2 separate regions of the Homo sapiens genome follow, and region 2 is linked to region 1. Evidence: promoter capture Hi-C in human tissues and cell types (Jung and others, 2019). All regions are on one chromosome and are shown on one strand. Each heading gives the region's core, a stretch centred on a gene start or on the middle of the fragment in contact. The rest is flanking DNA. Distances are from core to core; before and after follow the strand shown.

Region 1 (6,511 bases), core at 2,310-4,809:
TTTTGGAGGGTTTTATGGGCCAGACTTGAAAATGGAACACATTAATTAAAGGAGAAGCTTAAAAATGTGGTATAGCTAGGCCGGGCGCGGTGACTCTTGCCTGTAATCCCAGCACTTTGGGAGGCCGAAGCGGGCGGATCACGAGGTCAGGAGATCGAGACCATCCTGGCTAACACGGTGAAACCCCGTCTCTACCAAAAATACAAAAAAATTAGCCAGGTGTGGTGACGGGCACCTGTAGTCTCAGCTACTTGGGAGGCTGAGGCAGGAGAACGGCATGAACCTGGGAGGCGGAGCTTGCAGTGAGCTGAGATGGCGCCACTGCACTCCAGCCTGGGCGACAGAGCAAGACTCCGTCTCAAAAAAATAAAAAAATAAAAAATAAAAATAAAAAAATAAAAAAATGTGGTACAGCTGTGTGTCCAAGAAAAAGAAAGAAACAGGTTCTGATAAACACATAGGCTCTGGCTCACTTGACATTCAAAACTCTCTATACTCTGGCTTAAGTCTGTCTTTCCAATTTTATCTTCCATTATCCAATTATCCAACTGTAGCTTCTTTTTGTTGTTGTTGTTGTTGTTGTTGTTGTTTGTTTTGTTTTTTGAGACAGAGTGTCACTCTGTTGCCCAGGCTGGAGAACAGTGGTACCATTCTGGCTCACTGCAACCTCTGCCTCCTGGGTTCAAGCGATTCTCCTGCCTCAGCCTCCCAAGTAGCCGGGATTACAGGCACGCGCCACCATACCTGGCTAATTTTTGTATTTTTGGTAGAGATGGGGTTTCACCAGTTGGCCAGGCTGGTCTTGAACTCCTGACCTCAAGTGATCCGCCCACCTTGGCCTCCCAAAGTGCTGGGATTACAGGAGCAAGCTACCACGCCTGGCCTCCAACTGTAGCTTTTATTCAGCTTTGCTGCAATCACAACCTACCCCAAAATCTAAGCGACTCACAACAACCAGTGCTGGCTTCTGATTTATGTATATGCAGGTTGTGGGTAAGCAGTAGCTCAGCTCCACAGGTCTTCTCATTCCCAGGCCCAGGCAGAAGGAGCAACTCTCATGTGGATTATTCCCATTCTAGTGGCAGAGAAGAACAAGAAAGTGGAAACTCATGTGTTCAAACATGGCATGAGTCACATCTGTTCACATCCCATCAGCCAAATTATGAAACATGACAAAGCCCAAAGTCAATGACATGAGACATCTATTCCTTCTACAGGAGATACTGCAAGTCACATGGCAGTGGGCAGGAATGAGAGAGGAAATAATTTCAAACAATTAGTCCATCCACTACAACTGCCATTTTCCATCTGGAGTACATGGCAGACATTACTACCCAGCACTCTTTCCTCAGAATCCTCAACACAACATTTCAGGCAGACATTACCAATAATCTGAGTTTGCCTAAATACATAAATAAAGGTTGAAATTGATGTGCTATTATGTGACTCTAGGCTCATTATCCATTCCCACCTCCAAATCTTTGCTTTGGCCTAGAAGAAGCTTACCCTCCCCAGTCCCCATCTTGCCAAACTATCCAAATTTAATCTATCCTTCAAATACTTGAATATTTGAAAGTAATGACTATAATTAAAATAATGAATTACATTTATTATTTTAAAATAATGAATTACATATATTATTTTAAAATAATGAATATTTACTATTCATTCTTTCAATAAAAGTAACTGAATACCTAGCATAGTACCTGCCACATATTTGTTGAATGAATCTGTTTCACATTACTTTGTGCCTTGCACTGAGCACATAAATGCTCAGTGAACATTTGTCTCCTGTTAATGAACCAGCACTGTTCCTTAGAACAATGGGAGTTAGTATCACATGCCAGAGTTTCTGGACTGGGAGTATGGTGACTGCTTGTGCTTAAATCTTGATTCTGCCACTCACTAGCTGGATGACTCCAGGCAAGTCATTAATTGTGCCTCAATCTCATCATGTGTAAAATGGGGATAATAACAAGGCGTATTACATAAGCCTGTTGTATTAAATGGGAAAATTCTTAGCATAGTTTGAACAGATCATAAGCACCCAAGAAATGGAAGTTGTTACCATTTTTAGCTCCGAGACTGTTTTCTCGTAGACCTTTATTTTGGGCGGAAGACAAGAGCCAAGAACTCTTGAGACTTGGGTCCTTGAACAGACCTCACTCTTAACCCACTCCAGACCTTGAGCTACCTCCTCATCCAGAAACTGGTTCCCTAACTCATAAATCCTGACTAATGACACAGACACATCACCTTAATGTTTGTGCAGCCCAGTAACTAATTTTTAAGTGCCTGGAGATCTTCAGATGAAAGACACTGAGGGCAGACACCGCATTCAGTCATAAAAGCAAAACACTACCAAAAAACTTGGAAAAGGCAGAAGCTCCATAACTTAGTGCAGTAGAGAATTAAAGCAGGCACCTAGGAAGAGGAAATCAATCCTTAAGACTGTAATCCTTTAATGCAGAGCCAGAGAAAGAGGTAATTCTGAATGCCTCCGACTACAGGGATGGAGAATAGCGAGAGGGGGGACAGGATGCCCAAGTCTATAACGTGACTTGGGGTGTGGGAGACGTGTCAATCTTTCACCTCTCCTAAATAAAAACCGGAACGTCAACATGTATTGTTATCCTAATTAATTTAAGCCACTTAAAAGGCTTGGGCAAACAGGCCCCATAAGTGGCTTGTTTGTGAATTGTGACAGGTCCTGAATTATGCCAAGCTCCCTTTTCAATTTCATTCTTCTCATTCCACCGCTCCTACCACCACCTCAGTCAATTGTATCCTCTTCCTAGACCCAGAAGCCACTCTGGGGGAGCCCAGTCCAGATGTGGATATGGTCAGGCCCCTTAGCACTGAAATCCTCAAGTTGGAAAAAAATGGTCAGCTGTGCAGAAGACATCATTCTTACAAGGTCTGTCCCTGAGATTGAAGTAAAGAAGAAACTGCTATACCCCAGCTATCAGTTTCCCATCCCCAAAATGGTGGGTAGCTGTGGTGTAGTGGCAAGAATATATGACGTGGAATTAGCCAAGGCTAATGCAGTTCTACATTTCATAGCTTTGACACTTCACACCGCCTCCTTAACCGTACTTCACTTTCTACATCTATAAAGCGTGCATAACGCTTAACGCCTATCTCACAGGTGGGTGCGAAAAGTACAGGACGGGACGCAACAGAAACCGCTCTGCCCACCGTTAAAGCGTTATATGGAAGGCTTTAGAGCCGTAAATCCTCCCCAGCCCCCAACAACGCACGTTACAAACCAGCAGCCACCCCTAATGCAGCCGGCCCCCTCCTAAGGGATCATGGGCCTTGAAGTCCTTTGCTGGCCACACCCTCGTTTTCTGTCATAGGAGTGAGAACTACGCCTCCCAGGATGCCGCGGTGAGGCCGCCGTCACGGACGCCCTCTTCCCCGCCCTCCTTGCGCGCAGCCTTCTGGGATGTATAGTCCTAGATCCGAGCACGCAGCGGCAAAAGGGCGCAGAAGAACCACAAACCCCAGAAGCCCTCGCGCCCACTCTTCTCCCTCCCCTCCAGAAGTCGGAGTGCTGTTTTTGTTGTTGGTGAAAGGTGAGGGGAACAGCTGATCCGTCTGTTGGGTAAGAAACTTGGCCTAATTGGGGGCGATCTTATGGGAGGGGAGGGTCACCCCACTTTCCAGTTTGGGGAAGGATAACGTAAGGGAACTGTCGAAGGGGAATACAGGAGCGTTTGGGTTGTAACCCTTTCCGTACTGGAGAAGCCACCCCCGCTGTTTGGGGAGTTCTTGGTTTCAAGGGGACTCTGATTGGGGGTGGGGGGCGCCCCCTCGTCGTCCTCTCCTTCTTCTCAATGCGTCTCTATAAAGCTGATCCCTTCAAGGGAGCTGAAATCTGCTTATTCGCTCCCAGGCAAGACGTGTCCCCTACACGTCTTCCCTCTCTCCCCTACGCAAATCCAAAGGCCTTTACGACGCTGAATCCCTGGGGAGGAAGGGGGACCTTCCAAGGTGTAGAATGTCAAGGAACTCTAGAGCCCTACAGAGTAGGGGATGGGACACCCGCTCTCCGCCCCATCATGTGAACATCTGAATCAGGCTACACACCTACATCTTAGGTGCCCAAAACTTTCTTTCGGACATGAAGAACGTTTACAGCTGTTACGGATTTTCTTTGTGGGGTGTATTTTAGGGTTCTCCAGGTATATCTTTGGGGACAATTTACCCCCACCCTTAGAAAGCTGGAAGAATTGCATTTGGAGAAAACATGGATTAGTTTCAACCAGGAATTTTTCAGGGAGATGAACATTAAAAAAAACTTTTTGTTCTACCTATTTGGGGGACAGAAGTTGCTCCTTTTTGTGTTGCTGGCTCACCTTTATCCACTGAGTTTCTGTTTTCTTTTAAAGTTCCTGTCCCCTGGACTTCAGCCTGGTGTGGGTTTGTGATGTTTGGGGGCGTGCATATGACTAGTGACAATGGCTGGTTGGACATGTCAGCTGTGAGTGACACAGGAAATAGATTAGTGGGCTGGAAAGGAGTGATGAATAAGAGGGCCATCTCACAGCCCTGGACTGAGGAGTTCTTTTGATCGTTATTATTGTTATCTGTCCTCACCCCACCCTCATATTTTCCAATTAACTCTCCCCAGCTAACTTGGAACACCCCTTCCTCTCAACCCCATCCTGTAGTGTGTCTCCAGCTACCAATACAAACAGATGGAAGGATGGAGGCTGAGGGGAGCAGAGAGAAAATGAGGAGAGAAATACTAAAGTGAAACCAGTAGGTTTCTAGTCCTGCTGCAGGCACAGTCTGGAGAGAAGAATGTTAGGTTCTTTTTGAACTATCTCCCCTTTCCTCAACGTTAAATATACATTTCCACTTCTTGGGGCCCCTTACTTCCCACTTTCTAGTCTGTTCCCTGCCCTGGGGTGGGGCTTTCCTGGCTCCAGGCCCCCACATTCCATCTCCCCACCCCCACCACGTTCCTGCTAAGCGCCTCACTCCACCCTTGAAGTTGCCGCCTCCAGAATTCTTGACTTCCTGGAATAATAAGTCAAGGGACAGAACCTGTCTTTCCTTATATCCTCCCCTTCCCTTTGTCTCTTGGATGCCAGCAGAAGCTTTCTGCTTCCCTAGAATTCATGGGGGTAGGCAGCTCAGAGAGATGAAAAGAGCTGAGAGCTCAGGAGCCTAAGGATTTGGGCTCAGTTCCCCTCGACCCCCAGCCATATTCTAGCTCTGAAAACTCAACCATTCCTTTCAGAGATTAGTTGCTGCTTTCTGATGTCATAACTCATTCCTGGATACAGCTGGGTCAACAAGCTTAGGAGTAGGTAAGGACACCTCTCTCAATGAGAGGGCCCCACACCTCAGTTGGATTTTGTATTCAAGAGCCAGGATGTGTGGGAGATGGGATGGAGAAATGGAGGCTGTCGACCAAGTCGCAGTATCCCAGGCTCTGTCCCCGTCAGTGTCCTTTTGGGAGCAAAATTAGAGAAGTCTGAACCCTCAGAAGGGTCTATGAGCCAGAGCGGGTACAGTGTGAGACAGGATGGGGACGGACTTGGAAGGCCAGACCTACGTCCTAGAGACTAAGAGTGATACCTCAAAAATGTCCCGTAACCCTCAGGGACTAGAAACCAGGTATGCCTTATCTCCAGGTGTAGTGGCAGGGGCTGTGAGTGTGTGGTGCTGGAGCTGTGGGGGGAAGGAGGTGGACTGGAAAGACTTTAGGCTATCAACCCTTTCTTTCATAGGAGGACAGATATCTCAAGGCCAGGATGGAAGAATCACCACTAAGCCGGGCACCATCCCGTGGTGGAGTCAACTTTCTCAATGTAGCCCGGACCTACATCCCCAACACCAAGGTGGAATGTCACTACACCCTTCCCCCAGGCACCATGCCCAGTGCCAGTGACTGGATTGGCATCTTCAAGGTATCTCTGGAACCCCTTTTGGCTTAGGTTTATGGGCTGTGAGTTGGTTGGAATAAGGGGAATGATTGGGCTCTTGGATTCTCAACCTCAGGTTGATAGAGAAGAAGAGAGAAAGATGTCACAGATGACAGAGGCCGCCTGTATAACCAAAGCACATATTTTCTCCATCTTAGCCTTGTTCTTTACTGACACATTAGTGTCCCTCCACTTTCCCTTTCTCTTGTCATTGTTGCCACTGTAGCTCCATCCTGCCCCCCTTATTCAACCCCTCAGCCCTTTCTTCCATCCATAGAAGGTAGTTCCATGACCATACCTTTCTCCAACCTTGGGCTTTCACAGGTGGAGGCTGCCTGTGTTCGGGATTACCACACATTTGTGTGGTCTTCCGTGCCTGAAAGTACAACTGATGGTTCCCCCATTCACACCAGTGTCCAGTTCCAAGGTACAAGGGAAGATGGAAAATTGGGAGAGAGGAGCCAAGGGAGTGGAGGTTTGAAAGAAGGTAGTGGGCTCAGAAACATTAAAAGTTAGGCACAAAGGACAAGGAAAAATAAACGAAAATAAATATAATGAGAATATATCCAACA
Region 2 (6,511 bases), core at 2,472-4,971, 600 kb before region 1:
TAGATTACACAACAGGAAGGACTTCCTGAAGAGATGGGTGTGGTCAAACACCAGAAGAGGTGACACAGGCTAGGGAATGTAAGGCCAGGAGAGATCCCCCTAATAATCTGATGTAAGGAAACCTATTCTGCCCAAAAACAGGAGGGACAGAATGTGAGAGGGCCCTTGCCAGCACAAGCATCTTACAAGTGCATGGACTCATTCTCTGAATCCATCTTCATCAGCTGTCCCCTGGGCACTCTGCCTTTCCTCTTCCTAATTACTCCAGCACAAGTGGGTACATAGGTACTGATTCTTTATCCCTGCTCCATCTGATTTGCTCCTCTAGTTTCCCTTTCCACAACCTGTTTTCTTGTCAACATCCAGACTCTAATCAAGCCATGTCAATGGAGTAAAGTAAGAAACAGCAGCAAGTATCTAGATAAAAAAGACCCTAAACCTGCCACTAGGCTCCGTCAAATACCTGGATAATTGCACTCATCCTCTGCCTCCCAAGGCAGACCTGGCTTCTCAAGGGTCTGGTTTTCCTCACATGGAGGCCCCCTCCTCCTCTTCTGACCATGTGACAGCTCCCCTAGATCTTTGATATAATTTATACCTTGCCAGGGACCAACTCTTTCCCACCACTGTGAAGAAGAGGGAAAAAATATATATAAATACGTCGGAAATCTATAACAAGGTCTTCTTGGAGGGCAAGACATGGGGAGAGTTAGAAGCAGCGTCAATTGCTCTTTGGGGGTTTTAGTTCAAGCCGAGGTCTGCTTCCAGCAATCAACCATTAAAACAAGCTGGCCAGAGTAACAGCACAGTTTATTCTGATCATTTAATTTGAAGTGTCAATAAATTAAACTTCAATCAATTAAACTAGGTGTGCAATAACCCAGATGGACACCCCGACACCAACATAATCACAATAAAAATTTTTATTGCTGCCAGGGACCTCACCGGGGGCAGTGCTGGCACTGCTCGCGCCCTAGCTGAGAAATATATCTCCACAGCGCAGGAATGAGGAGATTGCTTCTCCTAACAAAATGGAGGGGGCCAGGCACCAGCAAGGACGCAGCTGGGAGAGGGGCACAGGGGACTGCCAGGAACGAGATGGGAGTGCTTTAGGGGCTTAATGTAATTGATACCTTTGCCCAGAGCAGGGGGAGGGGGGCATTTAGGCCAAGTACCTCTACTGTTAGGGCCAAAGGAATTTAACAAAAGCCCCATTAAGATGATTCAGGAAGCAAAGGCCAAGGAGCAACATCAACCTTTAAAGTCATTGACATATTCTGCATAGTTTCCTCCTCCATACATACTCATATCCTTGTGCACTTTGGATGGCCTGATTTTTTAATGAGGCTTAGAATTTAGGATTTGGTTATGGTTTTAAAATATTAAGGTAAGACAAAGTACAGAATTAGAAGTCTAGTCTGTAAAGCACTGGAGAAGCACTCTGAAAGTGAATCCAGAGAGGATTAGGAAAAATAAAACCTATGAACAAAGATTTAAAGATCTAAACCGATACAGAATTCAGTTTTGTTTGTTTTTTAAGACAGAGTTTCACTTTTTGCCCAGGCTGGAGTGCAATGGCCCTCGGCTCACTGCAACCTCCGCCTCCCAGGTTCAAGCGATTCTCCTGCCTCAGTCTCCCGTGTAGCTGGGGATTACAAGCGCATGCCACCACGCCCAGCTAATTTTTGTATTTTTAGCAGAGACGGGTTTCACCATGTTGGTCAGGCTGGTCTTGAACTCCTGACCTCAGGTGATCCACTCACCTCAGGATTACAGGTGTGAGCCACCGAGCCCGGCCCGAGTAATTCAGCTTTAAAGAAAAAAAGTAAAGCAGGAAGGAGGAAGGGGAAATCCTTATCTTTAAGATTCCACAGGTTATTAATGGAGAATGGTGATCTGCAGAGATCCTCTTCATTCACAACTCAAAAAGCGAGAACCAGCAGATACAGCAAGAGAGAAGAAGCCAAGTCCAAAGATGCAGGCTGAGATCACTATTATTAAGCATTGGGAACTAAAAGAGATGAAAGGGTCTCTTTCCTTAGAGCCTAAGGAGACCTGAGAGAGATTAGACAAATCTGCTTGAAAGCTAGAGCTGGATTACTTAATTCAAGAAAGAAATGTGACCATGTGACCCACTGTAAAGTACCTAAAAGAAGGGAACTTACTGTTATTTAGAAATTCCACAATCAATGCAAACTTTGATCAACAGTTCTTCTTGACCCCCTGTAGCTTACCTGTCCCTTTTTCTCGACATCCTGCAGCTATGTATGTACCTTGTAGAGTTAAGGACAGAAGAATATGCTTTGATCAGATTGTCCCTAACCGCATTACATAGGTTTCCCATAACAAAGAACCAGTGTGGTTTTAAAAGCAAAGTCCAGGGTTACCTGATCAAGTTAGCAGGGATCTGTGAATGCAGCCTATTAGGCATAGATTAAAGCAAAAGAATAAGGAAGAAGCAGGCTGAAACAGACTTCACTGAAGAAGCAGAGACAGAGAACTAAGGGAAGAGAAATGTGACAGAGAGACTTTCTTTTTCTTTAACTTTTCTGAGACAGAGCCTTGCTCTGTCACCCAGGCTGGAGTGCAGTGGCGCATCTCGGCTCACCGCGACCTCTGCCTCCCAGGTTCAAGTGATTCTCTTGCCTCAGCTTCCTGAGTAGCTGGGATTACAGGCGTGGCCACGCCCAGCTAAGTTTTGTATTTTTAGCAGAGACCGGGTTTCACCATGTTGGTCAGGCTGGTCTCCAACTCCTGACCTCGTGATCCGCCCACCTCGGCCTCCCAAAGTGCTGGATTTACAGGCGTGAGCCACCGTGCCCGGCCTTTTTTTTTTTTTTGAGATGGAGTCTAACACTGTCGCCTGGGCTGGAGTGCAGTGGCGCGATCTCGGCTCACTGCAACCTCTGCCTCCCTGGCTCAAGTGATTCTCCTGCCTCAGCCTCCTGAGTAGTTGGGACTATAGGCTCGTGCCACCACGCCCAGCTATTTTTTTTTGTATTTTTAGTAGAGACATGGTTTCACCATGTTGGCCAGGCTGGTTTCGAACTCCTGACCTCAAGTGATCCGCCCACCTCAGCCTCCCAAAGTGCTAGGATTACAGGCATGAGCCACTGCACTGCGCCCGACAGAGATACTTTCACATATAACTCCCCCAGCTTACCCACTACACACAGGCCCATTGTTAAAAGGGCTCCCCAATTATTATCTTCCTCATTCCTTTACCTTTAAGCAGGCTCCCTTCTAAACATATATAGGTAAGTCTAAAAACTTCCAAAAAAACCAATTCCCTAGAATCTATCCTAGTCTGCTAATTGGGTTTAGGGGGAGGTTTTTTATTCTTATTTTTTTAGAGACAGGGTCTGGCTTTGTCACCCATGCTGGAGTGCAGTGGCACAATCATAGCTCACTGCAGCCTCAAACTCCCAGGCTCAAGCGATCCTCCTGCCTCAGCCTCTTACAGTGCTGGGATTACAGGCATGAGCCACTGCACTCAACCTCTTGATTAAGAATACTTGCTGCCGGGCACGGTGGCTCACTCCTATAATCCTAGCACTTTGGGAGGCTGAGGCAGGTGGATTGCCTGAGCTCAAGAGTTCAAGACCAGCCTGGGCAACACAGTGAAACCGTCTCTACTAAAATACAAAAAAGTTAGCCAGGTGTGGCAGCACGTGCCTGTAGTCCCAGCTACTCGTGAGGCTGAGGCAGGAGAAATTGCTTCAACCCAGGAGGCAGAGGTTGCAGTGAGGTGAGATCACACCACTGCACTCCAGCCTGGGTGACACAGCGAGACTCTGTTTCCAAAAAAAAAAAAAAAAACTTGCTAACTGGCCGGGGTGCAGTGACTCACACCTGTAATCCCAGCACTTTGGGAGGCCAAGGCAGGCAGATCACTTGAGGTCAGGAGTTCAAGACTAGACCAGCCTGGCAAACATGGAGAAACCCTGTTTCTACTAAAAATACAAAAATTAGCTGGGCATGGTGGCGCGTGCCTGTAACCCCAGCTACTCAGGAAGCTGAGGCATGAGAATTGCTTGATTCTGGGAGGCGGAGGTTGCAGTGAGCCAAGATTGCACCACTGCACCCCAGCCTGGGCAACACAGCCAGACTCTATCTCAAAAAAAAAAAAAAAAAAAAAAAAAAAAAAAAAAAAAGAATACTTGTTAACTGCTTGGTACAGAAAATATTTAAAACTACTCAGATTTTAAGCTTTTTACCTATATTTGACCAACCGACATAAGGAATTAACTGTCTTTAACTGAAAGAGAGGAATTAAAACCTGTTATTCTTTTATCTGATGAGGATCTGAATGTGTATGCTTAGGAGATCTGAAGGAAAATAAAAGACAAGCTTCTTTGGAAAGAGGCCTAGAGTTCAAGCCAATTAAGGAAGAAGGCTGGGAGTTAAATTCCTACACTATACTACCTACCTACCTACACACACACACACACACACACACACACACACACACACACCCCTCCAAATCGCAAAATAGGGCACTTTTGAGAGAAATTCTCTGGTCCAGTTCTAAAAAGGGGTAACAGGTATTTTATTTGTTAGAACAAGCATAAAGCATCATATGGACAAGAGGGCTAATACAGCCCTTTAGCGACCACAATTCTCATGTAACCAGAGAGGGAGAAATTAGCATCCTAGATCATACAATAAGAATTCCTGGCCCGGCGCAGTGGCTCACGCCTGTAATCCCAGCACTTTGGGAGGCCGAGGCGGGTGGATTACGAGGTCAGGAGATCGAGACCATCCTGGCTAACACGGTGAAACTCCGTCTCTACTAAAAAATACAAAAAATTAGCCGGGAGTGGTGGCGAGCGCCTGTAGTCCCAGCCACTCCGGAGGCTGAGGCAGAAGAATGGCGTGAACCCGGGAGGCGGAGCTTGCAGTGAGCCGAGATCGTACCACTGCACTCCAGCCTGGGCGACAGAGTGAGACTCCGTCTCAAAAATAATAATAATAATAATAATAATAATAATTCCTGGCCAGGCGCGGTGGTTCAAGCCTGTAATCCTAGCACTTTGGGAGGCCGAGGCGGGCGGATCACTTGAGGTCAGGAGTTCGAAACCAGCCTGGCCAACATGGTGAAACCACGTCTCTACTAAAAATACAAAAAAAATAGCCGGGCGTGGTGGCACGCGCCTATAGTCCCAACTACGCGGGAGGCTGAGGCAAGAGAATAGCTTGAACCCGGGAGGTGGAGATTGCAGTGAGCCAAGATCGCGCCACGTGCGCACTCCAGCCTGGGTGACAGAGCAAGGCTCGGTCTCAAAAAAAAAAAAAAAAAAAAAGAATTCCTAAGGTCTAAATGGGTAGAGAAAAGGAGAACAGAATAAGGAGTCTAGAAAAAATATTCCACAATCCATGCTAACTTTATCAGGTATCCCAGAACTTTGATGGAATACTGATTATTTGACAAACCTATATAATAGGGATTAACAGGAAACCGAAGACAAAACAGTTTCCTGAAGGAATGTGGCAGGGAATCGGCAATGGAGAGTCAAACTTGGGAAACCATCAGGAGGAGTCTGTAACGACAAAACATCTGTATTCTTTTCTTACAATATGGGGCGAGTTTGGTGGTTTGGTAAATTAAAATCAGGGTATCATCCACAATGCTAAAAATAAGGGGCAACCTGAAGGGTCCTAATCCAGTACGCCTACAGGTCTGTGTATCCTAAGGAGTCCATGTGCTGCCTTCAACTTTCCACCGACTCTATGCCCTCTCCCCGGCAGGGCTTCCTACTCTAAACCAAGGCTTTAGCTCCTACACTAGGCCACACACTTATTCCAAAGGTCAGCAGAACGCTCAGTCCCCAAGAATTACCCGGAACTCTCTTTCCCCGTCTCCCACTCGGGCTGAACCCTGACTCCCGGCCCCTGTGGACACCACAGCATCTCTGCTGCCCCTCCAGCTCCTACCAAAATCAGCGCCTCCATCTTGCCCCGCAGCTGGTGCCGACGTGGAGCCGCAAAAGAAACGCCGCCGCTGATTGGCCATACGTTCCCATTAGGCCCCGCCTAGGATAAGGATCATTGGGTAAGGCTTGCTTTATTGGCCAATTATTGTACTAGCTTGCTTACCGGAAGCAAAGTGTCCAACCAGAAGGCTCAGGTGTTTGATTGTCAGCTTGAATACTCAATAAAACGCCAAAACCTCACGACTCATTGGGGCGGGAGGGTTAGTGGGGCGGGGTTGTTTCCATGGGGAACAGAAGAAGCGATTGTTAATTTTCAATTGGTAGGGCCGAGGACACGTGATATTGTCGGACTGATTTAGCGATTTTTAAACCGCACCCTCTTTAGGGGGCGCTGTGTCTCCTTAGCCTTTAACACTGGCGCTTTCTAACCGGAATCCTGCCCTAATCCCTATTTTCAGCGCCCGCATTAGGTCCATGATCTCTGTGGCTAGCCCTTCCCTCATGCTCGCTCAGGTCACTTCAGCATCCTCACAGAAAGTCTGCACAACCATAGAGTAGAGCCAAGAAAGGCCCAACAT

Evidence for each region. Contacts are between HindIII fragments. The study calls those that stand out against the background at their distance.
Region 2: a fragment that was not itself captured here is called in contact with the fragment with the promoter of CALCOCO1 in region 1 in 1 of the 25 tissues and cell types used here (hippocampus).

Annotation. Positions count from the first base shown.
Region 1 is chr12:53,724,500-53,731,010 of GRCh38, reverse strand. CALCOCO1 (calcium binding and coiled-coil domain 1) reads left to right here and starts at 3,559. Exons shown (of 15, transcript NM_020898.3): 1 at 3,559-3,607; 2 at 5,745-5,924; 3 at 6,264-6,366. The coding sequence starts at 5,769. It overlaps LOC105369774 (a long non-coding RNA gene), which reads right to left and starts at 4,432. Exons shown (of 3, transcript XR_944973.3): 1 at 4,362-4,432; 2 at 929-1,075. RefSeq lists enhancers at 3,407-3,466, 4,784-5,983. The HindIII fragment of the contact is 5,999 bases long and covers 780-6,511 here.
Region 2 is chr12:54,324,605-54,331,115 of GRCh38, reverse strand. It overlaps COPZ1 (coat protein complex I subunit zeta 1), which reads right to left and starts at 5,985. Exons shown (of 9, transcript NM_016057.3): 1 at 5,935-5,985. The coding sequence starts at 5,952. RefSeq lists enhancers at 545-1,234, 1,235-1,925. The HindIII fragment of the contact is 4,502 bases long and covers 1,471-5,972 here.